6 separate regions of the Homo sapiens genome follow, and regions 2, 3, 4, 5 and 6 are each linked to region 1. Evidence: promoter capture Hi-C in 16 types of primary human blood cells and fetal thymus (Javierre and others, 2016). All regions are on one chromosome and are shown on one strand. Each heading gives the region's core, a stretch centred on a gene start or on the middle of the fragment in contact. The rest is flanking DNA. Distances are from core to core; before and after follow the strand shown. Region 1 holds the start of ANKRD27 (ankyrin repeat domain 27). Region 2 holds the start of C19orf12 (chromosome 19 open reading frame 12). Region 3 holds the start of CCNE1 (cyclin E1). Region 4 has its middle 22 kb from the start of CCNE1. Region 5 has its middle 5.7 kb from the start of URI1. Region 6 overlaps ZNF536-AS1 (ZNF536 antisense RNA 1).

Evidence for each region. The method cuts DNA at HindIII sites, captures the fragments that hold promoters and counts their contacts. A CHiCAGO score of 5 or more calls a contact.
Region 2: the fragment with the promoter of C19orf12 here is called in contact with the fragment with the promoter of ANKRD27 in region 1 in 3 of 17 cell types (activated CD4 T cells, monocytes and M0 macrophages); the score reaches 6.1 in activated CD4 T cells.
Region 3: the fragment with the promoter of CCNE1 here is called in contact with the fragment with the promoter of ANKRD27 in region 1 in 1 of 17 cell types (neutrophils); the score reaches 6.1 in neutrophils.
Region 4: a contact is called between a fragment that was not itself captured here and the fragment with the promoter of ANKRD27 in region 1, in 1 of 17 cell types (activated CD4 T cells). The highest score is 5.8, in activated CD4 T cells.
Region 5: a contact is called between a fragment that was not itself captured here and the fragment with the promoter of ANKRD27 in region 1, in 2 of 17 cell types (naive B cells and fetal thymus). The highest score is 8.2, in naive B cells.
Region 6: a fragment that was not itself captured here is called in contact with the fragment with the promoter of ANKRD27 in region 1 in 1 of 17 cell types (endothelial precursors); the score reaches 5.2 in endothelial precursors.

The regions. Positions count from the first base shown.
Region 1 is chr19:32,673,672-32,677,090 of GRCh38, forward strand. It overlaps ANKRD27 (ankyrin repeat domain 27), which reads right to left and starts at 1,509. Exons shown (of 29, transcript NM_032139.3): 1 at 1,400-1,509. RGS9BP (regulator of G protein signaling 9 binding protein) reads left to right here and starts at 2,177. Exons shown (of 1, transcript NM_207391.3): 1 at 2,177-3,419. The coding sequence starts at 2,593. The coding sequence ends at 3,300. RefSeq lists silencers at 994-1,043, 1,064-1,793, 2,364-2,423 and enhancers at 1,437-2,056, 1,944-2,053, 2,824-2,873. The HindIII fragment of the contact is 4,511 bases long and covers 1-3,419 here.
Region 2 is chr19:29,714,011-29,717,429 of GRCh38, forward strand. C19orf12 (chromosome 19 open reading frame 12) reads right to left here and starts at 1,251. Exons shown (of 3, transcript NM_031448.6): 1 at 1,115-1,251. RefSeq lists a silencer at 786-1,575 and enhancers at 1,746-1,845, 2,391-2,610. The HindIII fragment of the contact is 2,629 bases long and covers 1-2,537 here.
Region 3 is chr19:29,810,085-29,813,503 of GRCh38, forward strand. CCNE1 (cyclin E1) reads left to right here and starts at 1,907. Exons shown (of 12, transcript NM_001238.4): 1 at 1,907-2,068; 2 at 2,448-2,494; 3 at 2,605-2,692; 4 at 2,885-2,953. The coding sequence starts at 2,472. RefSeq lists a silencer at 1,361-1,990. The HindIII fragment of the contact is 7,130 bases long and covers 1-3,144 here.
Region 4 is chr19:29,831,848-29,835,266 of GRCh38, forward strand. No RefSeq gene overlaps it. Among named protein-coding and RNA genes, the nearest start is that of CCNE1, 22 kb to the left of the region's middle. The HindIII fragment of the contact is 3,371 bases long and covers 113-3,419 here.
Region 5 is chr19:29,934,795-29,938,213 of GRCh38, forward strand. It overlaps a transcript of URI1 not described here. Among named protein-coding and RNA genes, the nearest start is that of URI1, 5.7 kb to the right of the region's middle. The HindIII fragment of the contact is 153 bases long and covers 1,629-1,781 here.
Region 6 is chr19:30,665,797-30,669,215 of GRCh38, forward strand. ZNF536-AS1 (ZNF536 antisense RNA 1) reads right to left here. Exons shown (of 2, transcript XR_007067216.1): 1 at 2,785-3,419. It also overlaps a transcript of ZNF536 not described here. Among named protein-coding and RNA genes, the nearest start is that of ZNF536-AS1, 2.7 kb to the right of the region's middle. The HindIII fragment of the contact is 4,204 bases long and covers 1-3,419 here.

The DNA.
Region 1 (3,419 bases), core at 259-2,758:
CCCCCCTTCCACACAATGGTCAAGGCCAGGAGTACCCAAGCCCTGGCAGCAAACACCCAGCCTACTGCTCACCCAGTTAAAGGACGGACCCCTGGGTGACAGCAGGCCCCGGGGCTCAGTACACCGGACCCTTAGGCCACCTCAACACCAGTCCTCATGCCAGGCTGATCTCGAAACGTAACAGCTACTGCTCAGCAAAACGTGGTGGCTAGTGCCTGTAATCCCAACACCTTGGGAGGCCAAGACGAGAGCATGGCTTGAGTCCAGGAGTTCAAGACCAGCCTAGGCAACCTGCTAGACTCCATCTCTACAAAAAAAAAAAAAAAAAATTAAAAATTAGCCGTGCATAGTGGCATGCGCCTGTAGTCCCAGCTACTACAGAGGCTGAGGTGAAAGGATTGCTTGAGTCCAGGAGTTTGAGGCTGCAATGAGCTATGATGGCATCACTGCACTCCAGACTAGCCAACAGAGCCAGACCCTGTCTCAAAAAGAAAAAAACGAAAAGAAAGAAAAGAAAAAAAATATCCACTGCTCTACTCTTCGGCCAGTGGGAAGAGTGCATTTTTTAATCAAAATAGGGGCCTCTATCCATGAAACCCATCAACTTGTAAAATCTGAGCTCTCTGCAGCCTCACAGTCCCTCCAGCACTGCCAGCAGCCCTCGTTCCCTGCATGCTCTAAATCCTCAGCGAAGACCCGTCCCTTGCTCCCTCGCCCAGCACAGGCCGCGAGTGCCCACGTCCCCTGCACCTCGTGGGGCAGCCAAGGGGGCACCGCGTGGCTCGTGTGCTCCTGGGCAGTCCATTTTCAACCACAAGACGGAACAGACTCAGAATCCGGAACATCTCTCGGTGCTTAAGAGTTTTCCTTTAACAATCTTTACCTGTGGGAATGCAGAGACCCCCCCGCCCTGCGAGAGGCCGGCAGCCAGGGATTCCCCGCTCCGCGCCCTCATCACCCCCCGGAAACCACAACCGCTGCGCGCGCGGCTCGGACCCCCACCCGCCGCTCCCCTCCAGCAGACCCTAGGCCTCCGGGAAACCGCGCGGCGACCGCCCCGCGCCCCGCCAGATCCGAACCGCCGGACCCGGCACCCCGGCCACACCCGCCGGTGTCGACGCAGCGAGGCTCGGAGGGTGCATTCTCCGCGCCGACCGCTCCCCTCCTCCAGACCCGAGGGGCGGAGTGGGCAGGGCGCGCCGGCTGCGCACCGGGCACCCACCTGGGGACGCGGGGGCTGGGGCGGCGCGGGGCCACCTGGCGGACCCGGGAGCGGACTCCGGAGAGCAGGGAGCCCCTCCCCCCTCACTCTCCGGGCCCCGCCCGGCCGCCGCGCCCCGAGGCGCAGCCATCCCGCGGGAGGGGAGGCGCAGGAGGAGGCCAGCGCGAGGACACTTACTTAAAAGGCTACATCGCTTCATTCCCAGCCCATCCTGGGCGACGGCGGCACCTCCCTCGTCCGCTGCTGGGACCTCGATGCCCACCACCCTCGCGCGGCGATCTGGCCCTATAGCCCACCCCTTACTCCGCCGTGGGGCGGAGCCGCGCCACAGCTGACCCAATGAGAAACCGTCGTTTCCCAGAGTGACGTGTACGCAGAGCAATCATGGAGTCCAGCCCAGCCGGGGGCGGGGCTCAGGCGGCTCCCTACGCTTCCTACTCCAGCTGGCCCCGCCCCACGCCCGCAACTGCGCGTGCCCAGAACGTGAGGGGCGGGGCTGGGAGCCGGGCTGACACTAGAGGTGGGGTTAGCGCTTGGAAGCACCGACCAACGTGAGCGCAACGCGGCAGGGACACCTGACCCCGGCGGCGCCCAGCCCCTCGGATTGCCAGTCACTGCTCGCTTTGGGGCACGGAGGTGCCCAGTCCTGCGGGGCACCCGACGTCCTGTCGCCGACAGGGTCCGGGAGTCAGTATAGCTGGGTTCTAGTCCCATCACAGGCAAAAACTCCGCGGGAGCCTGGCCCGCTTTTTACCTGGGCCTCAGTTTCCCCATCCGTAAAATAGAACGGGTTGGATCTCCCGAGCGCTAACATTCCAGAACTCGGATGGGGCGAAGGGGAGGGAGGGATGGGCCACCCACACGTGACCTCCCCGCGTGGAGCCCCGCCTACCACTGATCCAGGGGGTGGCAGCTCCGGCCGGGACGAGCGGGGTGGGCGGGTCCTAGGAAACCCTACCCGGCCGCCCTTGGCAGCGCCTAAGGCGGAGCGCGCGGCTCTGCAGCCTGCTTGCCCCGGAGTTGGCACCCACGGAGGATGGGGACCGCACCCTCAGCTTCGCAGGGAGCCACCGTGGAGGCCAGGGCGGTGCAGAGACACGACGTGTGACTCGGAGTGCGCCTGGGGAGGATGGACGAGGGAGCGGGGGACCGCTAACGGGGCTCCCTCTGCGCGCCCCGTCCGCAGAGGCGCACGTCGAGGGTCCCGGGCGGGCTCCGTGGACGTTGGCGGTAGCGCCGAGCGAGTCACGGACCATGAAGAGCGTTCGTGCCGCGCGGCCCAAGGCCGGGATGGGGGTTAGCCACATCCTGCCGCGCTGAGGGGGAGGCTAACGGGCGCGGGCGGCCGGGCCCAGCCGGAGCCCACCGCGATGGCGAGGGAGGAGTGCAAGGCGCTGCTGGACGGGCTCAACAAGACGACTGCGTGCTACCACCACCTGGTGCTGACCGTCGGTGGCTCGGCGGACTCGCAGAACCTGCGGCAGGAGCTGCAAAAGACGCGCCAGAAGGCGCAGGAGCTGGCGGTGTCCACCTGCGCCCGGCTGACTGCTGTGCTGCGCGACCGGGGCCTGGCCGCCGACGAGCGCGCCGAGTTCGAGCGGCTCTGGGTGGCCTTCTCGGGCTGCCTGGACCTGCTGGAAGCGGACATGCGACGCGCGCTGGAGCTGGGCGCCGCGTTCCCGCTGCACGCGCCGCGGCGGCCGCTGGTGCGCACAGGTGTGGCTGGCGCCTCCTCCGGCGTGGCGGCGCGCGCGCTGAGCACCCGCAGCCTGCGGCTCGAGGCGGAGGGCGACTTCGACGTCGCGGACCTGCGGGAGCTGGAGCGCGAGGTCCTTCAGGTGGGCGAGATGATCGACAACATGGAGATGAAGGTCAACGTGCCCCGCTGGACCGTGCAAGCCCGGCAGGCGGCGGGCGCCGAGCTCCTGTCCACGGTCAGCGCCGGCCCCTCCTCGGTCGTGTCCTTGCAGGAGCGCGGGGGGGGTTGCGACCCCAGGAAGGCCCTGGCCGCCATCCTTTTCGGCGCCGTGCTGCTGGCGGCTGTGGCCCTAGCCGTGTGCGTGGCGAAGCTGAGCTGACGGACACCCGACGGCCGCCTGCTGCTGCCGCTCCCTCCCCTGAGAAAAGACTCGGGATGGGTGTGGGGTCTGGCCTGTGCAAGGGGAGTGGTCCTAAAACCCCGTGTGTGCATGGGTAC
Region 2 (3,419 bases), core at 1-2,500, 3.0 Mb before region 1:
TCTCTTTCCCTCTCCCCTTCCTTCCTGCTTTTTGTTGTTGCTGGTGTTGTTGTTGTTTTTTCCAGAAACGCAGTCTCCCTGTGTTGCCTAGGCTGGTCGGGAACTGGCCTCAAGCAATTCTTCCGCCTCGGCCTCCCGAGTAGCTGGAACTACAGGTGCTATTCCAAGATGGTGAAACCCCGTCTCTACTAAAAAATACAAAAATTGGTCGGGGTGGCTCACGTCTGTAATCCCAGCATTGCAGAAGGCTGAGGCAGGTGGATCGCAAGGTCAGGAGTTTGAGATTAGCCTGGCCGATATGGTGAAACTCCGTCTCTACTAAAAATACAAAAAAATTAGCCAGGCTTGGTGGTGTCGCCTGTAATCCCAGCTACTAGGGAGGCTGAGGCAGGGGAATTGCTTGAACGAGGGAGGTGGAGGTTGCAGTGAGCCGAGATCGCGCCATTGCACTCCAGCCTGGACAACAGAGCAAGACTGTCTAAACAAAAGCTCAACAAACTACCTGCCATCCCCAAAACTAATCTCACCTCCTAAAGCATTAACGACCCTTCCTGACCAAATCTAAACTAGCGCCCAGATTTTCTTCCCATATGGCTCAGCCCAGCTCCGCTGCCCCACAGGTGTCCTGTCAGGATCCGCTTCACATTTATAATACCTAGCACCCCACCCCCAGCCCCGCCCCTGCCCCACCAGCCACCCCCACTCTACCCCACCCCTACCCATCACATTCCGCACCCCACCCCCGCCAAACCCACATCCCCACCCCACCCAACCTCACCCACTCCCACCACATCCACCACCCGCACCCCACCCCCACCCACCACACCCATGCCTACGCCACTCCTGGGTGACAGCGAGCCAGGGCCCGGGACTCTAGTCCCAGCTCTGCTGCTTACTTGTGTGACTTCAGCCTCTCCATGCCTCAGTTTCTCCATAGGGACAATGACTACACTAACAGTGTCCACCCCGGCACCGGGAGGGCCGGGCTCCCGGCAGGGCGGGGACCCTCTCCCCAAGGCACTCCCGGGTCTCCAGGCCTGCTCTTGGGGTGCCCCCTCCTCTCGCGGGGCGCGGCCTGGGAGGCGCCCCGCCCCGGCTCCGGGCGCTCCTTTACCTGGGGGAGCGGAGGTCTACGCGGCGCGCTCGGCGATCAGACGCGGCTGCAGCCCGGGCCTGGCAGGCCCCGGGCTCCCCGCCCAGCTCCCCAGCCCCGCGGAGGGTCGCGCAGGCCTTGGTGGCGGCCCCGGCGCTGGCCCCGCCCTCCGTCCCACCTTCCGGCTGCGCCGGGCCTTCCGGGAAGCCACGCGCCGGGCCAGCTCCTGGCTCCGAGCTGCGCCCGGCCTTAGGGGGAGCCGGGGGTCGCTGCTGGGCACCCCCTCCCCGGTCCTGGCCCACCCCGCCGCTGTCACCGGGGCCCTGGCTTGGGTTGCGGGTGGCGTAAGGAGACGAGGCGCCCGGAGAAGAGTCCTGGGAACCGCAAGGCCGCGCTCCCGCAGGCCCAGCCCTGCCTTTCTCCCACGCGCACGCATGATCACATCCGGGCCCCGCGCACCTGCCTCCAGGACCGCGGGGACCTCCCGGAGACCTCCCTCCCTTTGGCCTGGAGGACCCCTCTCTCCCCGCAGCCTGGGCACAGAAGAGAGCACAGGGGCATCTGGAGGTCAAGGGTGCTGCGTCAGTATTTGGTGAATGTGTGGGCCGGAGCCAGATTTCCTCTGTTCCAGAGCCTGCTCTGGAGCCTCTGGGTCTGGGGGTTGCAAAAGGAGAAGCAGGTTGGGTGGGACTCGTAATCCCAGCTGCCAGTGAGGCTGAGGAGGGAGGATTGCTTGAGCCCAGCAGTTCGAGCGTGGGCAACACAGTGACATCCCATCTCTACAAATAATAATAAAAATTAGGCCGGGTGGGTGAGTCATACCTGTGACCTACAGCATTTTGGGAGGCTGAAGCGGGAGGATTGCTTGAGCCCAGGAGTTCGAGGCTGCAGTGAACTATGATCCCACCACTGCACTTCAACCTGGGTGACAGAGTGAGACCGTCTCTTAAAGAAAGAAAAAAAAGGAAAAGAACTGGCTTTGCTCTTAGGAGTCTTGGATGGGGACCAAAGCTGAGGCAAGGCAGCCTCTTAGGAAGGTGCAAAGGGCATGAGGCTGGGGTTGCAGAACTGCCTGGGAATACTACTTTATTGAGGCCTGTGGAAAGCTGTCCCTACTCTTGTCATGCAAGGTCTGGCCTTGAACCATCTCAAATCCAAAAGTGGCTTCTGGGGGGCTCTATAGAGAATTAATCCTAACAGGAACCCTGCAAAGCAGGCATGGTTGTCACTGCTATATTACAGATGGGAAGCTCTAAACACAGGCTGCTCTGCCCAAGGCCATCCTGGTTAGAAAGTTTCAGGGCCCAAACTCCAGCCTCGGTCTCGGTATCTCAAAGTCTCCGCCTGTGACCAGCACTCTGCCTGCTTTCCAGGGTGCCATGGGCACCCAGAGGACGGACCCTTTTCCATTTTTAAAAGAATGGAACAAACGCTCTTAATACCAAGCTTCCCCAGGCCTTGGCTGGGATAAAACAACCCCATTTATTCCTGAATCGGAGCTTTTGCTTGAGTTTGGGTGACTTTCAAGAGGGAAAGTGAACTGAGGCCAGGGGAACTCAGCTTGCTGCCTTCCTGGGGCCTGAGTGTGGCGCTCCCGTTTCTCTGCGGGCAGCTCCCTCTGGCGGCACATTGCAGAACTGGCCTGCAGACTCCTCCCCCAGAGATAGTGGGGAAGAGGGCCTGTGTAGGGAAAGATGCTGGGAGTGAAAGAAGCTTCAAAGTCCAGGCCCTCCAGAGAAGGCAAGCATGTAAGAGGTTCATGCAGCCCAGCGCGGTGGCTCACACCTGTAATCCCAGCACTTTGGGAGGCCGAGGCGGGCAGATCACCTGAGGCCAGGACTTTGAGACCAGCCTGGGCAACATGGTGAAACCCCATCTCCACTAAACATGGAAAAATGAGCCAGACATGGTTGGTGCAAGCCTGTAGTCCCAGCTACTCGGGAGGTTGAGGCAGGAGAACCGCTTGGACCCGGCAGATGGAGGTTGCAGTGAGCCGAGATCGCGCCATTGCATGCAAATCTGCAACCCATCAGCCTCCTGGGCCTCATTCTGATACGAATGCAGGCATAACATGACCGCACACTCTGAACCCCAGAGATGGAGCACACAGTGCCTCATGCTCCTAAAGGCAACTGCGGCCTCCTGCACAGTGAGCAAGGCGTGCCGTGGGGTCTCGGTGGTGGCGCGGAAATGGCACTGGCCCAGCACACAGCGATGCTTTATGCTGCTTACAGTGACCTAGGGAAAGTTCTTCCACGTCTCCGTGCCTCAGTTTCCTCATCTGGGAAATGGCAACAAGAGTAGTACTTATCCTATAGGGTTGTTC
Region 3 (3,419 bases), core at 657-3,156, 2.9 Mb before region 1:
CACAATGATCCTTGGGAGTAGATAGTTGCCATCTGTGAAACAGGATAATTGTGGCATCAACATGAATAGGATTATTGTGAAGTTTAATTGAGATGATACTTTGAAGGACTTAGCCCAGTGCTGCCATTTTGGAAACACTGTTTATGATACCTGTTACTGGTGATTCCTAACGGGCACAGGATGGGGGGTTCAGGTGCCTGGGTCCCTGCTGAGCAAGTAGCCCAGCAGCCTTGGCCTCAGAGCACCTGGGGGAATCATGAATTTGTGAGCCTCTTTGATAAGACCCTGGCTCTAACTTCAAGAAAACGGTCACTAGGGGAGGGTGAGGGACAGGACTGAGACTTTAGCTTAAGAAGGGCCCTGGGAGCATTCCAGAGCCTTCTTTTACGCACATCTTCCTGAAGCTGAGTACAGAGGGTACTCTGAGGTGATGACTGTTCCTTACCTGTCTCTCTCATTAGCCGGTAAGCCCTGCAAGGGCTTGGCCAGTGCCTGTCTTTCAAATGTTCATTCAGAAACAATTTAAGTGTCTCCCTTGGTCCAGGCACTATGCCAAGAACTGACAGATACAGCAGTGAGCAAGATGGGCAAGGTGGGGAGAGAGACAAGAAACAGAGAGGCACCAAGACTGTGTAGGGGCTGGGCTCCCAGCACTTTGGGAGGCCAAGGCGGGAGGATCGCTTGAGCTCATGGGTTTGAGACCAGCCTGAGCAACATAGCAAGACCCTATCCCTACCTGCCACCCCCCACCCCCCGCCACAATAAAAAATACAAGTCTTGAGGGAGAAAGGACAGAGGAGCTGTGGAGAGGAGGCCTGAGGTCTGAGGGTGGGGGATCAGGGTCAGGTCCTGTGGAGCCTGTAGCCTAGGACACGGAGTGTGGATTTGACCCTTATGCGAAACAACTGGAAGGCTTTTTGTTTCTTTTTCTGTAGAAATGGGGGTCTCACTGTTACCCAGGCTGGTCTCGAACACCCCAAGGGATCAGCCGTCTCGGCCTCCCACAATGCTGGGATTAAAGGCGTGAGCCACCGCGCCCGGCCTCAACTGGAAGGCTTTAAGTGAGAGATGGGGTGCAAGGGAATCCCAGAGTCAGAAAGGTCTTCAGAGAGCCAGGAAGGGCTTGCGGGGGAGGGGCGCATATGGAAGGGGCGCATGGAAGGAACTCACAGATTCCTTGAATGAATGAATGAACGACCCAATGCACTGACGGATGAATGGACAGGCGGCCAGGAATAGCAGCCGGCCCCCAGGGAGCCCCAGACCCCGCGGCCTGAAGCCTTGGTTCTAGGCCAAGGCACAGGCGCGGTGACCTTGGGGATGTCCCCGCCCAGGACTCAGGGCCCGGAACTCGGCGTCTCGGGGGCGGGGAGGGCGTGCCTGGCGGGACAGCGCGCGCGGAGGAACGGCGGGCGGTGCTCCTCGGGTAGGCCCCCCACACATCCCCTTGGCTCAGCCCTGCCGGGGCCCGAACCCGCGCCGCCCGCCGTGTTTACATTCCACCCGCGCCAGCCACGCGGCTTTTTGCCGCTCCAGCGCCGCTCGGCCCCGCCCCCGGCGCCCGCGGCCCGCCCCTCGCCGCCGCGCGCCAGACTTCTCCCGCGTCCCGCCCGCCGCCCCGCCCCGCGTCCCGCGCCCCGCGCCCCGCGCCCGGCCCTCGGCGCGCAGGCCCTGTCACTTGGCCCCGCCCTGTCCGCCGGCCCCGCCCCTGATTCCCCGTCCCTGCGCCTCGCGGGCCGGCGCCGTGGAGGGGCGGGTCCGGGGGCGGGGCGAGGGACGGGGCGGGACGGGCTCTGGGTCCCGCGCGGCCGCTGAGGGGCTGGGAGCCGCGGCGGGGCGGTGCGAGGGCGGGCCGGGGCCGGTTCCGCGCGCAGGGATTTTAAATGTCCCGCTCTGAGCCGGGCGCAGGAGCAGCCGGCGCGGCCGCCAGCGCGGTGTAGGGGGCAGGCGCGGATCCCGCCACCGCCGCGCGCTCGGCCCGCCGACTCCCGGCGCCGCCGCCGCCACTGCCGTCGCCGCCGCCGCCTGCCGGGACTGGAGCGCGCCGTCCGCCGCGGACAAGACCCTGGTGAGTCTACTGCCGCGGGCTGCGGACAGGGACTCCTGGGGCCCAGACCGCGCCGGGGAGCTGGGTGGGGGCGGGGTGCGGCCGGGTCGCGGGTCCCCGGGCGGCGTCGCGGGGCGCCCGGGAGGGTGCTGAGAGCGCGGCGGGGTGGGGTGGAGGGGACACTGAGGCAGCCCGGGCCCCGGGAGGCGACGGGCCGGTGAGGGCGGCGGGGGCGGCGGGACCCCGGGTCGGGGGTCGGCGGGTGCCCGGGTCGCGGGTGACAGGCCACCCCGCCATCGGCCATCTTCCTGGCTCGCCCGGCCGCCCGCGCGCAAAGGGGGAAGGGGTACTGGGCCCGCGGCCTGACCCCGCCGCCGCCTCACCCCGCGCCGCCCCGCAGGCCTCAGGCCGGAGCAGCCCCATCATGCCGAGGGAGCGCAGGGAGCGGTGAGTGCCCGCGCCGCGGGGCCGGACGGGACGGGACGGGACGGGACGGGTGGCGTGGGGGAGGGGCGGCCGCGGGTGCTCACCCGGCCCGGTGCCACCCGGGTCCACAGGGATGCGAAGGAGCGGGACACCATGAAGGAGGACGGCGGCGCGGAGTTCTCGGCTCGCTCCAGGAAGAGGAAGGCAAACGTGACCGTTGTGAGTACAAAAGAGACAGGTTGGGGAGCATCCCCCCCATCTCACCTGGGTACCCGACTTGGCTCTGCCTACGGGGGCGGGGGTCCCTTGGGCAGGAACGGAGCTCATAACCTGATCAGCTTTCTCTTCTTCTCTCTGTTTTTGTCTTGTTTGGTGTGTTTCCTTGGGGTCATGGGGGTGGCTTCATGTTAGTTTTTGCAGGATCCAGATGAAGAAATGGCCAAAATCGACAGGACGGCGAGGGACCAGTGTGGGAGCCAGGTAGGTCCGCCCGGGGTTGGGCCTCTGTGGAGGTCCTTCTCCCCCTGGGTCACATGGGGTTTCATGCTGTCTTGTCTCTTGCTGGAGACACTCTGGTGAGAGTGAACTTCTCTAATGCAGCCACAGCCCATATGGCCCAGCACTGTACCTGTCAGTGGGCACTGGCCTCTGCCAGTCCTGGGATTCCAGGAAGCTTGGTGTTCCTGACTGGCACCGTCTGAGATTACAGATATGTGCCTAGCCTGGAAGAACCAGAATGGACATCACAGTATTCAGTCCTCCCCTTCTGCCCAGGAGGAAACTGAGACTCAGTTAGAGGAAGAAAGTAACCCAGAGTCCTGTGCCATCCAGGGGCAAAGTTGGGCTCTCGGCCTTGTCTGTAAAAGCTGGTGAACTGGGGGAGGGTTCCTGGGTGTTTATAAGCAACAACTTTCCCCCTATCTACACCTATTTTTCTTGTCATGGT
Region 4 (3,419 bases), core at 548-3,047, 2.8 Mb before region 1:
TGGCCCACACTGATGTCATTTCTTCACTGGGTTCTGGAGGCAGTTGACTCATGTGGGAAGCCGGCTCTGCCACTTCCCAGAGTGGTCTTGGGCTCTGTGCTTCATTTCTCCAAGCTTCGTGTTTCCCAGCTGTGACCTGAGGATGACAACATAGTGCTTCCCCCATGGAACCGAGGGGAGATGAAATGAGGTCACGCATAGATATGTTGAGCACAGCGCTTGGCACATTAAAGAGAAACAGCAAATGACAGCTGATCCCTCTTATTGCCACCACTGGGTTCACTGTCACTGAGCTAGGCTGTTCTGTGAAGGATTGAGCATTCTCTTTTCTTTTTCTTTTTCTTTTTTTGGGACGGAGTCTCGCTCTGTCTCCCAGGCTGGAGTGCAGCGGCATGATCTCGGCTTACTGCAACCTCTGCCTCACGGGTTCCAGCGATTCTCCTGCCTCAGCCTCCCGAGTAGCTGGGACTACAGGCGCCCGCCACCACGCCCGGCTAATTTTTTGTATTTTTAGCAGAGACAGGGTTTCACTGTGTTAGCCAGGATGGTCTCGATCTCCTGACCTCGTGATCCACCCGCCTCAGCCTCCCAAAGTGCTGGGATTACAGGCGTGAGCCACCGCGCCGGGCAATTTTTGTATTTTTAATAGAGAACGGGGTTTCGCCATGTTGGCCAGGCTGGGCTCGAACTCCTGACCTTAGGTGATCCGCCCACCTCAGCCTCCCAAAGTGATGGGATTACAGGCATAAGCCACCATGCCTGGCCAAGCATTTTCTTTTTTAAGAGAGAGGGTCTTGCTCTGTCATCAGGTTGGAGTGCCGTGGCACAATCATAGCTCACTGCAGCCTCGACCTCCTAGACCCAAGAGATCCTCCCGCCTCAGCTTCCAGAGTAGCTGGGACTACAGGTGCACACCACCATGCCCTACTAGTTTTAAGTTTTTTTTGTAGAGATGGGGGAATCTCACTATGTGGCCCAGGCACGCCTTGAACTCCTGGCCTCCAGTGGTCCTCCCGCCTTGGCCACCCAAAATGCTGTGGCTACAGGCGTGAGCCACTGTGCCCGGCTGAGTTTAGCACTGGGGACGTGTTCTAGCCCTACAGACAGCCCTGGTAGGGCACTGAGGTGGGGACTTACCGGCTGCCCTGTGTGCCTTGCGCAGCCCAGGGCACAGCAGTGAGGACTCCAGGAATGCCTGGGAGCTTGTGCAAGCGAGCCCTTAGCCTCCTTAGCCTCTCCCCTTGGGCCCGCCCCTGTGTCTTCTCCAGGCTTCCACCCCCCTCCCTCTCCCAACTTCCCAACTTGTCTTCCTTCTGTTTTTTGTTTTTTGTTTTTTTTTGAGATGGAGTCTCACTCTGTCACCCAGGCTGGAGTGCAGTGGCATAATCTCAGCTCACTCCAACCTCCACCTCTCAGGTTGAAGCCATTCTCCCCCACGTAGCTGGGACTATAGGCACACACCACCGCGCCCAGCTAATTTTTGTATTTTTAGTAGAGACGGAGTTTCATCATGTTGGTCAGGCTGGTCTCGAACTCCTGACGTCAAGTGATCTGCCTGCCTCAGCCTCCCAAAGTGTTGGGATTACGGTGTGAGCCATCGCACCCAGCCGCCACTTCTTTTCCTGGGCAGCCCCTTTGAAAGTGTCATCTACACTCACTGTCACTCCCTCTTGGACCCTCTCCAGTTGGCGTCGCCACACCACACAGTGCCCTCAACAAGGCCACCTAAGACCTCTGTGGGACAAATCTCACAGTATGCGTCTGCCTTCCTCTCCCAAGGCACCTCTGCCACACTTCGCTCTGCTGACCCCTCTTTCCCTCTGGAAACTTCAGTGCCAGCTCCCCCCCGCCCCCACGCACCAAGCATCATCCCTCCCAGGCAGCTCCTCTCTGCTCCAGCATAAGGTGGAGGACCCGCAGATTCATCCCGGCCACCGCCGCCCCCTTGACATTTGTCCCTGGGCAACCTCACCACCTGGAAGACTTTGCCACTGCCTCTGTGCCGGCCTCACCCAAGCAGGGGGTCTCTACCCCAATGAGGCCTGCCCTGGCTGCACACCTGAATGCCCACTTGCCTGCAGGGGGCCTCCACCTGCGCCCTTCACCACCTTCTAGAAAAACTCCTTATTTCACCTTCCATTGTTCATGCTATTACGAAAAATGGGAACTGGCAATACACAATCAACATGAAGGTGACTCAATCCGCAAGTCATCGGGGAAATGCAAAATAAAACAATGAGATAATTTCACAGCCACCAGGTTGGCAAAAATTTTAAAGTACAAAGAACAATACAAATGAATAGCTGTGGATCCATCATCCATATTTGCCTACTTGGCTTCATATCATGTTTTAAAGAAGAAATACAACATTTGAGTATGCAGCAGTTTGTCAAAAGAAAAAAACTAAAAAAGGAAATACAATATTGTAGACATAGATGAAGATCCCCTCATGTTCCTCCTCAGCTGAAACAACTCCCCAAGGTGGATGTATATGATGCCCATACATATTTTTAGACTTTTACCATTTATTTTTGGATCCAGAAGCAATAAATAGACTTATAGCAAATACTGCTTTGGGTGTTTAAAAAATTACCTACATTTGGTGGAAGGAAGAAAAAGAAATAGTAAAAAAACAAAAAAAGAAAAAAAGAAAATAAGTGGAATCAAACTTTACATATCACAATATCACTTGCTATTTTCTTTCAATGTTATTTTCTTTTCTTTCTTTCTTTCTTTTTTTTTTTTTTTTCTTTTTTGACATAGAGTCTCGCCCTGTTGCCTAGGCTGGAGTGCAGTGGCGCAATCTCAGCTCATTGCAACCTCCACCTACCAGGTTCAAGTGATTCTCCTGCCTCAGCCTCCTGAGTAGCTGGGACTACAGGTGCCCACCATCATGCCCAGCTAATTTTTGTATTTTTAGTGGAGACGGGGTTTTGCTATGTTGGCCAGGCTGGCCTCGAACTCTTTACCTCAGGTGATCTGCTTGCCTCAGTCTCCCAAAATGCTGGGATTACAGGTGTGAGCCACCGTGCCTGGCCTCAGTGTTATTTTCAAGATTTACCTATGTTGATCCACGTAGGGTTGAGTTTATTCTTTTGAAATGGTGGTAGAATTTTCCCCTGTGTGAATGTTCCACAATAGATATGCTCCCTGCCACCCTGGTCCACAAGTAGGTTTCTGATTTTTTCACCATCACAAACAGTGTTGCAATTGGCATCTTGTGCACATTGGTGCCACTTACCTGGATTCCTTTAGGGCACATTCCTAGATGTAGGATTGCCACGTCAAAGGGCGTGTGCCTGTGCACCTTAACTAGATGTGGTCAGTGACTTCCTCAAACTGCACCAATCTCCGCTTCCCGCCAGGGAGTGTGAGAGCTCCTGCCTCTCCACCCTTGCTCCAGTACTCAGTATCGTCAA
Region 5 (3,419 bases), core at 455-2,954, 2.7 Mb before region 1:
ATCCACCTGCTTTGGCTTCCCAGGGATTGGTAGCATAAGTGCTGGGATTACAGGCATAAGCCAACATGCCCATATTATTTTCTTACTTTCCATCCTTTCGAATCTTTTGATCCAAAGTAAGTCTCTTGCAGACAGCATATAAATTAATAATTTTTAGAAATCCATTCTATCAATCTCTGCCCTTTAATTAGACAGTTTAGTCCATTTACATTTAAAGTAATTACCAATAAAGGATTTAATTCTGCCATTTATTTAATAGCTATTTGCTTTTCTGTACATTTTTTAAATTTTGTTCCTCAATTCCTCCACTACTACATTTTTTTGGTATTTAATAGATTTTAGTGTATCATTTTGATTCCTTTTTTCTTTCCCTGTCTGTATATTTTTTAGTTATTTTCTTAGCGGTTGCCTTGGGGATCACAATTAGCATCTTAAATTTATAACACCCTAATTTGAATAATACTAACTTAGTTTTAAGAGTATACAAATACTTTGCTCCTATACATCTCTTTCCCTCCCTCTTTATATTATTATTGTCCCAGATCATATCTTTATACATTCTGTGCCCATTAACATAGATTTATAATTATTGTTTCATGCATTTGCCCTTTAAATGATAGGTGAAAAACAAAGTATTATGAACAAAACCTACAATAATACTGGCTTTTATATTTACTGATGTATGTAGTTACTATTTTTATCAGTGTTCTTTTTTTTTCTCATCATGGCTTTGAATTACTATCAAGTTTCCTTTCATTTCAGCCTGATGGATTCATTTTAGCAGCTCTTGTAGAGCAGGGCTACTAGCAATGAGCTTTCTCTGCGTTTATTTATCTGAAAATGTCTTAATTTCTCCTTTATTCCTGAAGGATAGTTTGTCTGGTAGGAAATTCTTGGTTGACAGTCTTTTTTTTTTTTTTCCCCAGGACTTTAACTGTGTTATTCCACTGCCTCTGGGCCTCTGGTTCCTTTTCTTTTCTTTTCTTTTCTTTTCTCTTTTCTTTTTTTTTGAGATGGAGTCTCACACTGTCATCCAGGCTGGAGTGAAATGGTGCCGTCTTGGCTCACTGCAACCTCTGCCTTCCAGGTTCAAGCAATTCTCCTGCCTCAGTCTCCCAAGTAGCTGGGACTACAGGCACCCGCCACCACGCCTGGCTAGTTTTTTGTATTTTTAGTAGAGACAGGGTTTCACTATGTTGACCAGGCTGGTCTAGAATGCCTGACCTCATGATCCACCTGCCTTGGCCTCCCAAAGTGCTGGGATTATAGGCGTGAGCCACTGTGCCCGGCACTTAAAAAAAATTTTTTTTTGAGATGGAGTTTTGCTTTTTTAGAGTTTTGCTCTTGTGCCCAGGCTGGAGTGCAGTGGTGCAATCTTGGCTCACTGAAACCTCCACTTCCCAGGTTCAAGCAATTCTCCAGCCTCAGCCTCCCAAGTAGATAGGATTACAGGTGCCCACCACCGCATCTGGCTAATTTTTGTATTTTTAGTAGAATGGGGTTTCGCCATATTGGTCAGGCTGGTCTCGAACTCCTGACCTCAGGCGATCTGCCCACCTCGGCCTCCCAAAGTGCTGGAATTACAGGCCTGAGCCACTGCACCCAGCCCCTCTATGGTTTCTGATGAAAGCTTAGCTATTAATGTTACTGAGGACTCCTTGTACCTTACAAGTTGTTCCTCTCTTGCTGCTTTCAAGATTCTCTTTTTGTTTCTGATTTTTGACAATCTGGCTGTGAGTTTCAGTATGAATCTCTGAGTTTCTCGCGCTTGTAATTTGTTAAGCTTCTTGGACGTGTATGTTCATATCCTTCATCAAATTTGGGAAGTTTTCAGCCATTATTTCTTCAAATTTCTTTTTCTGTCCCTTCCTGTTCCTCTTCTCCTTCAGGAACTTCTACTATGCATATGTTGATATATGCTTGATGGCATCACATGGATCTATCAGGCTCTGTTCATTTTTCCTTTTCTTTTTTTTGAGATAGAGTCTCACTCTATTGCCCAGGCTGGAGTGCAGTGGCATGATCTTGGCTCACTGCAACCTCCTCCTTCTTGATTCAAGTGATTCTCTGGCCTCAGCCTCCCCAGCAGCTAGGGTTACAGGTGCGCGTCACAATGCCTGGCTAATTTTTGTATTTTAGTAGAGATGGGGTTTCACCATGTTGGCCAGGCTGATCTCAAACTCCTGAATTCAAGTGATCCACCCTCCTCGGCCTCCCAAAGTGCTGGGATTACAGGCATGAGCCACCATGGCCAGCCTATTTTTCGTTATTTATTTTTCTCTCTTTACAACTGGACAATTTCAATTGCCTTATCTTCAAGTTCACTGGTTCTTTCTTCTTCCTGATTCTTCAGATCAGCTTTTTGATCTCTCTAGTGAATTTCTAAGTTCAAGCTATTGTACTTTTCGGCTCCAGGATTTCTATTTTGTTCCTTTTTATAAGATTAAACTATCTCTTCATTGGCCTTCCCTATTTGTTCATATATTATTTTGGTTTCCTTTAGCTCATTGGGTGTAAGACAGTTGATTTAATGTCTTTGACTAATGTTTCCAATGTAAAGGCTTCCTTGGGGATGGCTTCTATTGAATTCTTTTTTTCCCCCTGTGAATAGGCTATACTTTCCTTTTTCTTTGTATGCTTTGTAATATTTTGTTGAGCACTTGGCATTTTGGGTATTATTGTAGTAACTCTGAAAATCAGATTCTCCTCCTCTTCAGGGATTGCTGATTTTTGCTTGTTGAGGGTTGCAGCCATCTGTTTGTTTAGAGACTTTTCCAAACTATGTTTGCAAAGTGTGTAGTCCTTATTGCATGTGGTTACTGATGTTTTTGTTTCATAATCTTTACAGGCAACCAGTGACCTGGAAATGATATCTGTAAATTTCTGGCTACAAAAAGGTGTTCTTTACTTTCAAATCTCCTGATGGATGCTGCCATAGGAAGCACAAGAGGGCTGAAACCAATACAGGAGTCTGTGCTAATCCCTCAGGACTCAAAAATGCCCCAATTTTTGGAGGACAAGGGTCATCTTGCCCACCTTGCAACCAGCCAGCCATTCCAGGAAAGCTATTCCTGCAGCCTCATGGTAGGGTGAGGGCTGAGAAATGGGGCATGGCAGCTGTTTTGCATCCACCCTGTTGCTGTTCTCTTACCAACAACCAGCAGCCTCTTTTTTCATCAAGAACTCCCCTGGCTGTTTATTCATGTCTCATGAGGTTTGCCTGTCTAATTTTTTGTATCTTTAGTAGAGATGGGGTTTCACCATATTGGCCAGGCTGGTCTCGAAATCCTGACCTCAGGAGATCCATCTGCTTTGGGCTCCCAAAGTTTTGGGATTACAGATGTGAATTATTGTGCCCAGCCAAGGCTGGGTAATTTGTAAAGAAAGGAGGTTTATTTGGCTCGCAGTTCTGTGGGCCA
Region 6 (3,419 bases), core at 529-3,028, 2.0 Mb before region 1:
AGAGATTTGGGGTTTGGGTATTTGGGGGGCCCTAGGCAGCAGGCACAGTCACTAGGGGATCAGAGGACTGAGAGGAAAGGAGGGGTCACTGTCTGGAGACATTGCACATTCTGGTGCACTGCATGGACAGGTGATTCCTGGTGTGTCTGGGATTCCTGTGGTGGCCCCTTTTGGGAGACTTTATTTGGGATCCTGGGGTCCAGGCTGGGGCCCCTGCAGCCCCAAAGGGCTCTGAGGAGGGACCCTCGATACATCTCACCTAGGTACCCATGAAGATGGGACTACACCAAGTTTGTTGCTTTAGGGTTGATCTAGACAGAAGGTGCCTATCTGCAGACATGCCACAGACATGCGTGTGCATGCTCGCTTGCTGATCACGGCTCACCTGGTCTCCCAGGAGGTTCTGAGCTTAGGCCCAGCCCTCCCAGCAGCAGGTGCACTGCCTCCCAGTCTCCCATCACTCAGGATGCTTGAGCTGCTTCTCATCTTTGATGAGGTGGCTCAGGCCCTGCTGCTGGGTTCCTTCTCACATCAGAAGCTGGCCGGGTCCGACACGTTCCCTCCTGTCCGCTCTTCTTTTCTCCCTCCCTTTCCCTGCCTCCTCCCTCCCTTCCACTCCCTCCTCTCTTTTCTCCCCTCTCCTCCCATCCTCTGCTGGGGATCCCGGCAGGCACTGGCTGCACTCACGTCCTTCCACCAGTAGATGGCGGCCTCTGCACAGAAGTGGAACCCACATTTCTATTACTGTTTAGGCTTTGAGAGGGGGCTTTCTGAGCCTCAAGGTGGGGTGTTCTAGGAACAGCTCCGGGCTCTGGGGGTAGCAGAATCCTCAGAAGCCCACACATGGGGTAAGGCGGGAGCTGGAAACCTCGCGGATCTAGTTTCCCTTGCCTCAGAGCTGGGACCCAGAAATACCTTTTAATTGCTTTATTTGTTTTCTCTGTGTGTATATATATAATATAAATATACACACAAAATATATATATTCAAAAATATATATGTAAAATATATGTATGTGTATATATGTGTGTGTGTGTATATATATATATATATGTATGTATGTATGTATGCATATTTTAAAAGACTTATTCACATTGAAAATCCAGGATATTTTACAGAGCATATCAGGCAATTTCTGGAAAAGTCAGAAGTTGTGGTAACCCTGGGCTCATGTCTCCTGGGCCACAGGGGAAGGTGCTGAGTATCGCCTGACCCTTGGGGCAGCTGTTCTCAGGCCTACCTTGGTGTAAGCTCTTGCCCTACCCAATTTTCCCAGGAATGCAAACTGTGCTGTAAGCTGGGCCCTCTTGTCTAAACTAACCTCGTTAGCATCTCGCAGTAGCACAGCACCGAGGACTAATGACTGAACACATGCTGTGTGCTGTAGACCTCCCGAGCACCAGGTACTGTCTCCATCTGAATTCATTTACACGCCTGAACAGGTGTAATTATCCCCAGCTTACAGAAGGGGAAACTGAGGCTCAGAGGAGCAATCGCCTGTCCCAGTAGCAGAACAGGGGTGACTTGCACACAGGCTTGCCTGGTGGAAAAGCTGGGTTAGTGCCTGGTTGGCCCTTGGGTGCAGGGAGGGGGCACCTGCACCCTCCCACGCTATCAGCCTCTCCCTCTGTGTGCGTTAGCTGCTTTCTGTGTCCATCCGGGAGGCCTCCCCCATGCCGAAGCTGCCTGTGAGTGGGAAGGTGGGTGGTTAGGAGACCTGAAATGCCGAAGTGTCCCCAATGGCCTGGATCAAGGTTAATTGAAGGGACTGACCATGACTGTGTATAAAACAATGTCAGAAGACTCTCTCAGCTAGAGTTTTTTCTAGCTTTTTTTTTTTTTTTAATTAATGAGAAGTGAGGTAATCTCACCTTTTCAGATTCCCAGAGTAAATGAAGACCTACCTGCTCTGGAAGCCCAGAGCATGTCAGGTTGTCTTGGATATAGAGTACATGAACAGCTCCCAGCCTATTTACTACAGTACTAGATAACAATAGCAGAGCAGTAGTGTTAGTATACACTCAGCATGTCCTGAGTGCTTGCAATGTGCTAAGAACTATGCTGTGAAGGTCAAACCCTATAAGGTATACATTGTTATTAGCCTCATTTCATCGATGGGGAAACGCAGGCTCAGAGAGGTTAAGTAACTTGTCTAAGGTCACACAGCTGGTAATTGGCAGGGCTAGATTTGAAGCCAGGTCCTCAGGGCACTATCCTTTCAAGGAATTCTATCGAAATGGCATGTAATTGGCTCTAAAATAACTGGAGTGCCCTTCAGAAGTGCTAACTGCTCCAAGTTATCTGGATTCTTCTTGGATGTTAAATGTAATATTAGAAAAAAAATTTTTAGTTCATGATGATGGTCTTGGCCACATTTTCTCTCTCTCCAGGAAATAAATTTTTGCAAAATTAAGATATTTATTTGCCCTGGAGACTCTACACCATGTAGAGATTCCACAGTGGGGGCTCCTGACCTTGAGTTTGAGGGGAGGGGGTGTGATTGACTTTCTTTTGCTTGCTAGGACAGGTCCTGCATCCCTGGGCCAATCAGGGGCCCCTTCTAGAATTTTCTGCCTAATACACTGCTAACCCTGTCCCAGGCCAGGCTACAGTTGCTTCCTGGTGTGTCTGAGTTTTTGTGTGGGGGCGCCTTCTGGGAGCTTAAAAGCTCAGGATCTTGGCGGCCAATTTGAGGGTCCCTGCAGTCCCAAAGGACACTGAGGAGGGACCCTTGTTATGCCTCTCCCAGGTACCCGTGAAGATGGAGCCACCAAAGTTTGTTACCTTAGAGTTGACCCAGATCTGTGGTGAGGGGAAGTCGGCTCCAGCCTCTGCGCTGCCTCTCTCTGCTGATGGCTCCCTGGGGGCTCGGTGTAGGTCTCCTCTATAAGGCGGGTCATATTTGCCACACCCACTTCGAGGCCATGTGAAGGGGCCGCGTGGGAGGTGCCCAGTTCTTGGCTGGTGGAAAAGTCGTTTGTTGCTGTGATCACAGGAGCTCCCAACTCATTCCACCTTCTCTAAGCCAGCTCCGATTCCTGAGGACCACCTGTGTGCCCAAGCCTGGTTGGGGCGTTTCTGGTTAATTAGGAAAGGGATCCCATACCCCAAATGCCCAGAAGAAGGAGCCAGAGGTTTAGAAGGGCCAGGCCACGGAGGAGCAGCTCAGCGAGGGTGGTCTCTGAGTGGGCAGCGGGGGCAAGGGTTGTCGGGGGACCCCCTCACACGCCTGGGTGCATTGTGCTCATGGTGGCCCCTGCCCCTGGAACTATGAATGTGGCAGTCCTGGAGGCTTCCTAGAGCCCAGCTAGATCATTCCTGGAGGGAAGGGGACAGCAGGAGCAATTGTCCCAATGCCACAGTGGGGCGATGCACAGGCGGCTGGCGCTCCCTGTCTGTTTTTGGAGAGGAAATGACAC